Linked DNA regions of Homo sapiens: all the other regions are linked to region 2. Evidence: promoter capture Hi-C in 16 types of primary human blood cells and fetal thymus (Javierre and others, 2016). All regions are on one chromosome and are shown on one strand. The core of a region is centred on a gene start or on the middle of the fragment in contact, and the rest is flanking DNA. Distances in the headings are between cores, read along the strand shown.

Region 1 (3,163 bases), core at 577-3,076, 140 kb before region 2:
GGCACTGTGGGTCACGCCTATAATCCCAGCACTTTGGGAGGCCGAGGTAGGTGGATTGCTTGGGCTCAGGAGTTCAAGGCCAGCCTGAACAACATAGCAAAACCTCATCTCTACAAAAAATACAAAAATTAGCCAGTTGTACTGGTGCATGCCTGTATGCAGCTACTCTGGAGGCTGAGGTGGGAGGATCACCTGAGCCTGGAGAGGCTGAGGCTCAGGTGAGCCGAGATCACACCACTACACTCCAGCCTGGGCAACAGAGTGAGACTCTGTCTCAAAAAAGCCCAAAACAAACAAGGAAGGTGTTGCCAAGTGTCAGCTGGGGCTTTTCAGGTTCACTCCCTTAAGTATGTCCCTTTTTCAATTTAATATTTACGGTTTTTGTTTTTGTTTTTGTTTTTTTTTGAGACGGAGTTTTGCTCTTGTTGCCCAGGCTGGAGTGCAGTGGGGCAATCTCGGCTCACTGCAACCTCTACCTCCCAGGTTCAAGCGATTCTCCTGCCTCAGCCTCCCGAGTAGCTGGGATTATAGTCGCCCACCACCATGCCTGGCTAATTTTTTGTATTTTTAGTAGAGATGGGGTTTCACTACATTGGCCAGGCTGGTCTCGAACTCCTGACCTCAGATGATCTGCCTGCCTCTGCCTCCCAAAGTGCTGAGATTACAGGTGTGAACCACTGTGCCTGGCCAATATTTACTATTTTATAACAAATAATTCTCCTTTGCTGTCTCCCTTCCCTGTAATGCACCATGGGTACCAAAAATAAAAATAAAATAAAGATAAAAACGTGAACTTTTCATGATTAGTCAGAGCACCAAACAGACACTCCTAGCACCTCTGTAAAGACTGAGCCAGCCAGACAGAGCCATTCATTCCCACACACAGTCCCCCATCATTCCCAACCGGGCCAGACACATAGCTGACAGCCACTGCAAAACCCACAAGAGACAGAGAAGCATTTGGCTGTACCCCTTCCTGGAGATGTGTTTGTAGCAGCACTGCCTCTGCAGAGAAACAGCTGGGAATTACTTCTTGGCTCCACCCTATCACCTCTGCCCCCAGGGCCCGTTTCCTCACCAGGGAAATCGACAAAAATCCAGACCTTTCAAGGGCATGAAGATGATTGAAAGAGACTGGATTCAGAAAGAGCTTAAAATTGTTTTACCCACAGCACATTTAAGAGCTTGGTAATTGCCGTTAATATCATCTTTATCATCATCATCTAAAACAGTGATCTAGGGAAGAGGTTATAGACAGCAGTGATTCTGAATCGGCAGGACAGGATATTCAACCAAAGATATTTAACCCCTTTCTGATTACAAGGTGTCATGGTCTGAATGCTCATGTCTCCCTCAAATTCATATGCTGGAATCCTTACCCCTAAAGTGATGATATTAGGAGGTGGGGCCTTTGGGAGGTGATGAGATCATGGGGGTTCAATCCTCATTGGGGGAGAGACCCAGAGAGCTAGCAGGTCCCTTCCACCATGTGAGACACAGCGAGAAGGCAGCACTAGGCCCTCACCAGATACCAAGCTTGATCTTGGACTTCCCAGCCTCCAGAACCACGAGAAACAAATATCTGTTTAAAAGCCACCCAGTCTATGGTATTTTGATATAGCAGCCTTAACAGGCTAAGACACAAGGCCTATGCTAGTCCCTTAGCCTTCTGGGGGCCTCAGTTTCCTCTTCCGTTATATGGGGACAAGAATACTACACTATCTATACCACGCTACCCAGGAGGGAAGAGTAACATTCTGAGGGCAGCGAAGCTGGGTCCCCAGGTTTGACTCTCAGTTCTGGGGCCAAGTAGGTGTGCTGAGTTTTCCCCATTGATCAAATGGGGAGGCTGCCACCCACCCTGTGTGGTGCTAGTGAGGGCCGAGCAATGTGGGATTGATGGAGCAGTGAACCCAGGTCCTGACCTATTGCAGGGGCCCTGAGGACATCAGTGCCCTTCCTCTCTCTGCCTCTACTGGGGAGCAGCCTCAGGGGAGTTGGGTGAGCAGGAACCATCCCCAGGGGGCTGCCAATCTCAAGCAGAAGGATACAGCCGAGTGTGGGAACTTGCAAAGTGGAGAAAGTCGTTTGGATCACTCCACCCGCAGAGTTGTCTTAAGCTTAAAGAGGAATTAGCCAAGAGCCCCAAGCTGATAAAGGCTGGCTGTTATTTCTTTTTTTAATCCCCTGAGTGTGGCCATTTGTTGCTAATGAGGTGAGGACAAAACATTACTTGTGGCTATCTTGCATAGGGCAAGTGCAGAGGCTCAGAATGGAATCTTATCTGCTTTCCTGCCCCTCCTACACCCCAGGGACCCATGGAGGGGCTCCAAAGTGGTTCTTGTCTGGAGGGCTTTAATGGCGCTTTTCTCCTATTCATCACGTTCATTTATTGAACTTAGCTCCAGCCTCCTAAGCTTTGAGCTGTCAACACTCTGAGATGAAGACAGTAGACAGCCTTCCGTGGGATTGAGGGGGATCCCTGTGGTTGCCCGGTGTCACCGACTGACCAGCAGGGCTCCGGCTTTGGAGTCAGGATAATCCAAGTGTATATTTGGCTCTGACACTTAACAAATCTGCAGCAAGTTCTCCACTCCTCTGAGTCTGTTTTCCCAGCTGTAAAAGGGAGCTAATAATAGCTCTTGCGGCTAGCGTTGGATCACCCAATAAACCTTGTAAGCATATGCTGAGGGCACACCCACACAGGCATGCACGAGAAGGAAGAATGCCATAGTTGCCATTTCATAAGCACCACGAAGATAAACATCATGGGAAAAATAGCAACTTTAGGCTGGGCACGGTGGCTCATACCCATAATCCCAGCACTTTGGGAGGTCAAGGCAGGAGGATCACTTGAGGCCAGGAATGAGAGACCAGCCTGGGCAACACAGTAAGATCTTATCTCTAAAAAAAAAAAAAAAAAAAAAAAAAAAAAAAGTTTTTTCACTAGGCACAGTGGGCTCACACCTGTAATCCCAGCACTTTGAGAAGCCTAGGCAGGTGGATCACTTGAGCTCAGGAGTTCAAGACCAGCCTGGGCAACATGGTGAAATCCCGTCTCCACAAAAAATACAAAAATTAGCCGGGTGTGGTGGTGCATGGCTGCAGTCCCAGCTACTTGGGGAGCTGAGGTGAGAAGATCACTGGAGCCTAGGAGGTCAAG
Region 2 (3,387 bases), core at 1-2,500:
TGGGGTTGTGAGGATTGCACAAGTTAATTTGTGTAAATTGCTAAGAACACAGCCTTAGGAAGCCTTGTCACTGTGAATGCATATTAATTTTTTTTATTATTATTTTTTGAGACAGAGTCTTGCTCTGTTGCCCAGGCTGGAGTGCAGTGGTGTGATCTAAGCTCATTTCAACCTCCGCCTCCCAGGTTCAAGTGATTCTCCTGTTTCAGCTTCTCAAGTAGCTGGGACTACAGGTGCCCGCCACCATGCCCGGCTAATTTTTGTGTTTTTAGTAGAGACAGGGTTTTGCTATGTTGGCTAGGCTGGTCTTGAACTCCTGACCTTATGTGATCGGCCCGCCTCGGCTTCCCAAAGTGCTTGATTACAAGCACGAGCCACCATGCCTGGCCTACGATTATCATGTCTCCAGGCTTCAGTTTCCTTACCTCTGAGGTGAGGATCAATAACCTGGTTATTTCTAAGTGATGCTTAAAGAGGTTGAGAAGAAGCAAAGGCGCTCTGCACACAGGTGAGGTCAACAGCTGTTAGTGATGGAGACTGGCGCCGTCTGGGTCATCAGTGCTCCGGAATCAGGCTGCTCACGGGTTTGAATCTCACTTCCACTTTCACTCCTTATTAACTGTGTGACCTCGGGCAAGTCACTTCGCCTTTCTGAACCTCAGTTTCCCCATCTGTAAAAGGTAGGTGAATAACAGTATTCACCTCCTTCTGTGTGACTCAGCTTTGGAGTCAGCGGACCGGGTTCAAATCCCAGCCCTGCAAGTGATTAGCCAGGTGACCCTGGGCAGAGGGAATCACTCAACCTCTCTGCACCTGGGTTTCTTCCTTCATGAACGTGGAGACTTTACAGGATGAAATGAGGGCACAGTTAAGGCGCCCGGTACACTCCAGGCAGGTAGGGGGCTCCGTTCACGTTATTTTCCCCTGGTGACGGATACTGTCCTTAAACAGCATTTGAAAAGTGGTCGCAGGGTGTGTGGCCCCAAAGATCCCAGGCGCTTCCGGAAGGCGAGCCAACGCTCCCCAGGCCCGTCCGCGAGCGGGTGGGCCTAAGCCTTGGAGGATCTGGGGTGGGGGTGGCGCGGGGTCCAGGCCCGGGGCGCCGAGAGGTGGCTGGTCCGGCTGCCCACGCCGAGACGCGCGAGGTGAGCGGGCGCCGGGGCGGGGCGGGGTGGGGCGGGGCCGCCGCATCCCCGTGACGCGCGGGCCAACCAGGCGGCGTTGCGGCCCCGGCCCCGGCTCCCTGCGCCGCCGCCGCCGCCGCCGCCAGCGCTAGCGCCAGCAGCCGGGCCCGATCACCCGCCGCCCGGTGCCCGCCGCCGCCCGCGCCAGCAACCGGGCCCGATCACCCGCCGCCCGGTGCCCGCCGCCGCCCGCGCCACCGGCATGGCGCTCCGGGGCTTCTGCAGCGCCGATGGCTCCGACCCGCTCTGGGTACGTGCCGGGGGCCGCGTGAGGCCGGCGGGACGGAGGGAGGCCGGCGGGGAGGGAAAGCACCGGGCCCGCAGCCGCCCGGGGCACCCCGCTCCCCGCTCTGCTGCCGGCCTCGGGGGCCCGGGACCCTCACGTCGCCCGCGGCCCAGCCCCTTTCGGGGGTGCAAGGCATGGGGGAAACTTGGGTGACTCAGTTCCTGCGGAGCAGAGCGTGGGGGGCCGCGTGCCCAGCCCTGGGGTTTTGGAGGGTCGGGTCGGGTCAGAGCCGCCGTGAGGAGGCCTTCCTGTTTTGGGGTTCCCGTCTGTAAAAACAACCTTCCAGGGAAGGGGACGCTAGAGATGGGGGGCGGGAAGAGGGGTGTCTCTCTGCTTCTGTTTTCCCATCTTTTTTGTGGTTAGGGTCCCCCCTTTTCACGAAAAATACTCCGTGACCAACGGGGTGAGCTGGGGAGGGGCTTAGATTGTAGAAAGGGACTTTCATTGTCTCCCCAAAGTTGTCGTACAAGCCACATTACTCTTCTGTGGTTACCTAGCTTTGTTTTTTTTGTTCTTTCTACTTAGATACTGCGGGGGAAGTTTGGGGGAACCAGGGAAGAAGGGGGATGTCCACCCTTGATGTGCCCTACCTGACCCTCGGCTCGGGGCAGACTTGGGGTGCAGCTGAGGACGCCCAGGACCCTGGTAGCTGTGGTCCTGCCCTCCCTTCCCTGCAACACGTGGAGCTCCTCTCTGGGGATGCCCCTTAGATTTAACCCCGGCAAGTTTTCTTCTGTAACGTGGCCTGCGGAGCCTGACTGGGTGTCTGGAGTCCACTTGCTGTGGTTTAAGCCCCAGTCTTTTGGGCTTCAGCTTCTCCGTAATGCGATTTGCCTCTTTGTTCCAGGAAGGCAGGCACTTCTGTCTCGTGCTGTCTTGATTGTTGGTGAACGCAGTAGGCAAATCTGGACACGACTGTTTCTCTCTCCTCTTTTGTTTAGGAATCAGGAGAAACAGCCTTGGTTCTTAGGAGCTGGTGATCAGCTTCCAAAAATACTTTCTTGTCCTGTTTTGCCGGCCTTTCCTCGAGGGTTGCATTTGGAGTGTTGAAAAGTCATCCTCCAGGGCCCCATTGGAGGGTTTGGTTTTGTTTGTTTGTTTTTTTTAGTAGGGTATCATTGTGTTTAATAACCTACCACACTTTGATATATCTCCCATTTTAAGCCAGTGGGGTTGGAGAGTAACCCCAGGGGTGGAAATAGAACACAGACTTTGCCTTGAGGGTCTGGGGGTGATTGGAGCCTCTTTGCAGATGGACTTTCTTTAGCAGGGGAAAACCTGTGGCTTCCTTGTTGCCAGGTGTAGTAACAGCAAGATTATTTTTTGCAAAGATTCACATGGTGATCTGGGTTTGTGTTGCTGTGAATTCCAGAATATTCTCTTGTTTATTTTCTTCTGAATTGAGGAGGGGGCAAAACAGGGTGAACATCCATGAGGTTTTGTATCAGGACGTATTTTATTGATGGCAATTGGTAGTTGATGGCTAATGAGTATGTTTGGGGTGCGCTTTGTTTATCTTAAGAAACTCATTCACGAAGTCCAGTTGTAATATTTTTTAAAATTTTTATTTTCTTTTTTCTTTTTATTTTTTCCTTCGTTAAGGACTTTCTGCCACAGAAATTGCCAGGTGGTTGGGTTTTGCTTGGGGGTAATTGTAGCTGATCTCTGCCTCTGGTAGGTACCCCATCCCCGTGTTTGACCTTGCGTATTTCTGCTGTCTGGATTCCAAGACTTGTTGGAGGTGCCTTGGAACCAGAATTTGAGAGGAGGCAACTGGGGCCTGAGTGGGAAAATTGAAATATAATTAACTGAAAGCTAGAAAGTAGGTAGTTGTTGCTTTTTTCTTTTCTTTTTTTTTTCTTTTTCTTTTTTGAGACAGAGTCTTGCTCTGTCACCCAGGCTGGAGTGCAGTGGCAC
Region 3 (3,291 bases), core at 667-3,166, 240 kb after region 2:
CTTTGTTTCTACAAAAAATTAAAAAAATTAGCCGGATGTGGTGGCCCATGCCTGTAGTCCCAGCTACTCAGGAGGCTGGGAGGTAGAAGCATCACTTGAGTCCAGGAGTTTGAGCATGCAGTGAGCTGAGATCGTGCCACTGCACTCCAGCCTGGGTGACAGAGTGAGACACTGTCTCAATAAATAAATTAAATAAATAAATAAATAAATAAATAAATAAATAAATAAGGCGGCCAGGCGCGGTGGCTCATGCCTGTAATCCTAGCACTTTGGGAGGCTGAGGCGGGCTTATTACATGAGGTCGGGGGTTCAAGACCAGCCTGGCCTGGCCAACATGGTGAAACCCTGTCTCTACTAAAAACACAATAAATAAATAAATAAGACTGGGTGCAGTGGCTCATGTCTGTAATCAGCACTTTGGGAGGCCAAGGTGGGCAGATCACCTGAGGTCAGCGGTTCAAGACCTGCCTGGCCAACATGGTGAAATCTCATCTCTACTAAAAATACAAAAAAAAAAAAAAAAATTAGCTGGGCATGGTTGTGCATGCCTGTGGTCCCAGCTACTTGGCAGGCTGGGGCAGGAGAATCACTTGAATCTGCGAGGTAGATCTTGCAGTGAGCCGAGATTGCACCACTGCACTCCAGCCTGGGTGACAGAGTGAGACTCCATCTCAAATAAATAAATAAATAAAAATAAAAAATAAAAAACATGGAGATGGCTCAGGTATGCCGCCGTTTCTTGTTTTCACCATGCTGAAAGGACTAGAGATAGCAAAGGAAGAGAAACAAAATCGCTTTGTATAAAAAAGGGAACTGACATGATTGCTTGTATGTGGAATTGCTGGGCAGATGGACAAGTATGCATGTTCTGAGGTGTGTGTGGAAAGGTCTGCACATTGCCCTCCAAAGGCTGACCCCTTCCAGATGTATTTGCTGTACTCTCTGCCCGCCTCTGTTCTTGCCCCTACCCGCCTCTTTTCCAGCTCCACACCATCCCTCTCCCTCCCACTCTGTCTTCCCTCTCCTCTGCAAATGGCAGGGGTAGGGAAGCTGGAGCCAGGTGTAGCCCACGCACTCTCCCAGGATGGCTCCAGCCCTTGCACCCACCTCACCTGGACGAGGGAGTGGATGGAGAAGGGCAGGAAAGCCTGGGCCTTGTTGAGGATGTTGAGAACTGTGAGAGTCACAAAGGCTTTCTCTGCATTCATAGCATTCTCGGCCACCAGAGTGTGGACAGCAAACACCACCAGTGCGACCTGGGGGGTGGGGGGGACACGTGGGGCAACAGTGAGACACGCAAGCATGGATAGGGCAGCCTGGGCAAGCTGTGGTGCCTGCACGGTCCATGTGGCCCACCCGCCATGTCCGCATGTGCTTCCCTCCGTAGATCCCACTCCCAGTCCTGCTAACACATGTCCTCTCCGCAGTCATAAGCTACATAAGGCTCTCTCTAAAGACACAGCGCATTGCTAATGGTGATGAGTGCGCAGCCCCACGGCTCTAGGCATCACTAGAACCTAGGGGAGAACCTAATGCCTCTAGGTTCCAGGCATCGGGGGACAGCAGAGTTTTTGATCTTGGTAGCCCTGTTGTTCTAGACGTGGTGGAACTTGTGATTCTAGAGTCCCTTGGAAGATGACTCTAAAGTTGCAGGCAGGAGCAGCACTTGAGGGCTCTAGGTGTTGGTGCCATTTGTGGTGCTTTTTTTTTTTTTTTTGAGATGAAGTCTTGCTCTGTCGCCCAGGCTGGAGTACAGTGGCATGATCTCGGCTCACTGCAACCTCTGCCTCCTGGGTTCAAGTGATTCTCCTGCCTCAGACTCCCAAGTAGCTGGGATTACAGGCGCCCGCCACTGCAACCAGCTAATTTTTGTATTTTTAGTAGAGACAGGGTTTCGCCATGTTGGCCAGGCTGGTCTTGAACTCCTGACCTCAGGTGATCCACCCACCTCGGCCTCCCAAAGTATTGGGACGACAGGCATGAGCCACCACACCCAGCCTACGTATCAAATTTTTTAAAACTGTGGTTTAGGAAGGTTGTTCTGACAGCAATATGAAATAAATTACAGAATGGCAGGACAAGGATCACGTCCAGTGACAGGGTGGCTATGGACATCTGCTGGCCAGGATCAGGGAAGTCACTCTGACCCAGGATTCTACCTCTGCCACCCCCCTGCATCTGTACCCTCCTCCCCACATCGGTAGAAGCCTGGAACTCTCTCTGAGAGTTCAGCAGACTTTATCAGCCACTGCCACCTTTGCTAGAATAATATGATTAATTAGTTCTTGTAGAAGACAGCAGGGACCCAGAGAGAACAGGATCCAGAATGAGTGGGTTTTGATGGACGGGGTGGTAGGATCTGGGGGGCTCCACCTACCTCACCCTGCCCCCACCCCCGCACTCCTTCCCCAGTGCTGCTCAGCATAGAGACTAGAGTGACGTCACCAGAAATGTAGACACTTGGAAGGACACCAGCGACACAGAGAAGAGGAGGCCGGAGGTCCGCAAGGCGCCCAGCTCCTGGCCTCGGATGCCCAGGACTCTGTCCAGAAAGGCTCCCTCCCAGCCATGGAACTTGATGGTCTTCGAGTTCCTGAGGATAGAGCTGGTGAGCCGTGCCCGTGAGTCCTTCTGCCTCATTTGCTCCTCCTGGGATCGGAGGGAAAAAGAGAGATGAAGACAGGGACAGTTGAGAACTCTTCCCTGCACCCTGACAGCCACCCTTCAGCAAATCCCATTCATCTCACCAAACTGCGTCCCAAACCTGTCTGCCTCTCAGCACCTCTGACCCTCACTCCTGGTCCAACCACCATCATCCTGTACCTGGACTTCTGCAGGAGTGCCCCTGGGATAATGTGCCCCATGGAGGAAGCCTCTGATGCCCGGAGAACAGAGGCAGCCTGAGCCCACCTGGGTATGACACCATCAGGAAGGCTACCTGGAGGTGGTTGATGCCTGAGCTACGTCTTTTTTTTTTTTTACCTTTTACATTTTTTGTGGAGTTGGGGTCTCACTATGTTGCCCAGGTTGGCCTCGAGCTCCTGGGCTCAAGTGATCCTCTGCCCTCAGCCTCCTAAAATGCTGGGATTACAGCCTGAGCTAAATCTTAAATGACCAGGAAGTGCGTGCTGAGCAGGCAGAGGATGGGGGGATGGAGCTGGAGAAGAGGGAGGGGAGGGGCTTGAGATGGGGGTGGGGGGTGGGGGCTGGGGGGTAGGGGGGTGGCGGGGGCACCTAAAACCCAGGCACAGGGAATAGCATGACTCAGAGGACACTCAGTGTGACCAGAGG

Evidence for each region. Contacts are between HindIII fragments. The CHiCAGO score rates a contact against its expected background, and 5 or more counts as called.
Region 1: a fragment that was not itself captured here is called in contact with the fragment with the promoter of ABCC1 in region 2 in 1 of 17 cell types (megakaryocytes); the score reaches 5.4 in megakaryocytes.
Region 3: a contact is called between a fragment that was not itself captured here and the fragment with the promoter of ABCC1 in region 2, in 1 of 17 cell types (megakaryocytes). The highest score is 5.4, in megakaryocytes.

Annotation. Positions count from the first base shown.
Region 1 is chr16:15,809,646-15,812,808 of GRCh38, forward strand. The region is part of intron 3 of MYH11 (myosin heavy chain 11); the gene reads right to left. Among named protein-coding and RNA genes, the nearest start is that of MYH11, 46 kb to the right of the region's middle. The HindIII fragment of the contact is 584 bases long and covers 1,535-2,118 here.
Region 2 is chr16:15,948,366-15,951,752 of GRCh38, forward strand. ABCC1 (ATP binding cassette subfamily C member 1 (ABCC1 blood group)) reads left to right here and starts at 1,251. Exons shown (of 31, transcript NM_004996.4): 1 at 1,251-1,434. The coding sequence starts at 1,387. It overlaps LOC107984869 (a long non-coding RNA gene), which reads right to left and starts at 806. Exons shown (of 3, transcript XR_001752339.2): 1 at 426-806. The HindIII fragment of the contact is 23,517 bases long and covers 1-3,387 here.
Region 3 is chr16:16,187,719-16,191,009 of GRCh38, forward strand. It overlaps ABCC6 (ATP binding cassette subfamily C member 6), which reads right to left. Exons shown (of 31, transcript NM_001171.6): 12 at 2,446-2,649; 13 at 1,113-1,256. Among named protein-coding and RNA genes, the nearest start is that of ABCC6, 34 kb to the right of the region's middle. The HindIII fragment of the contact is 4,585 bases long and covers 1-3,291 here.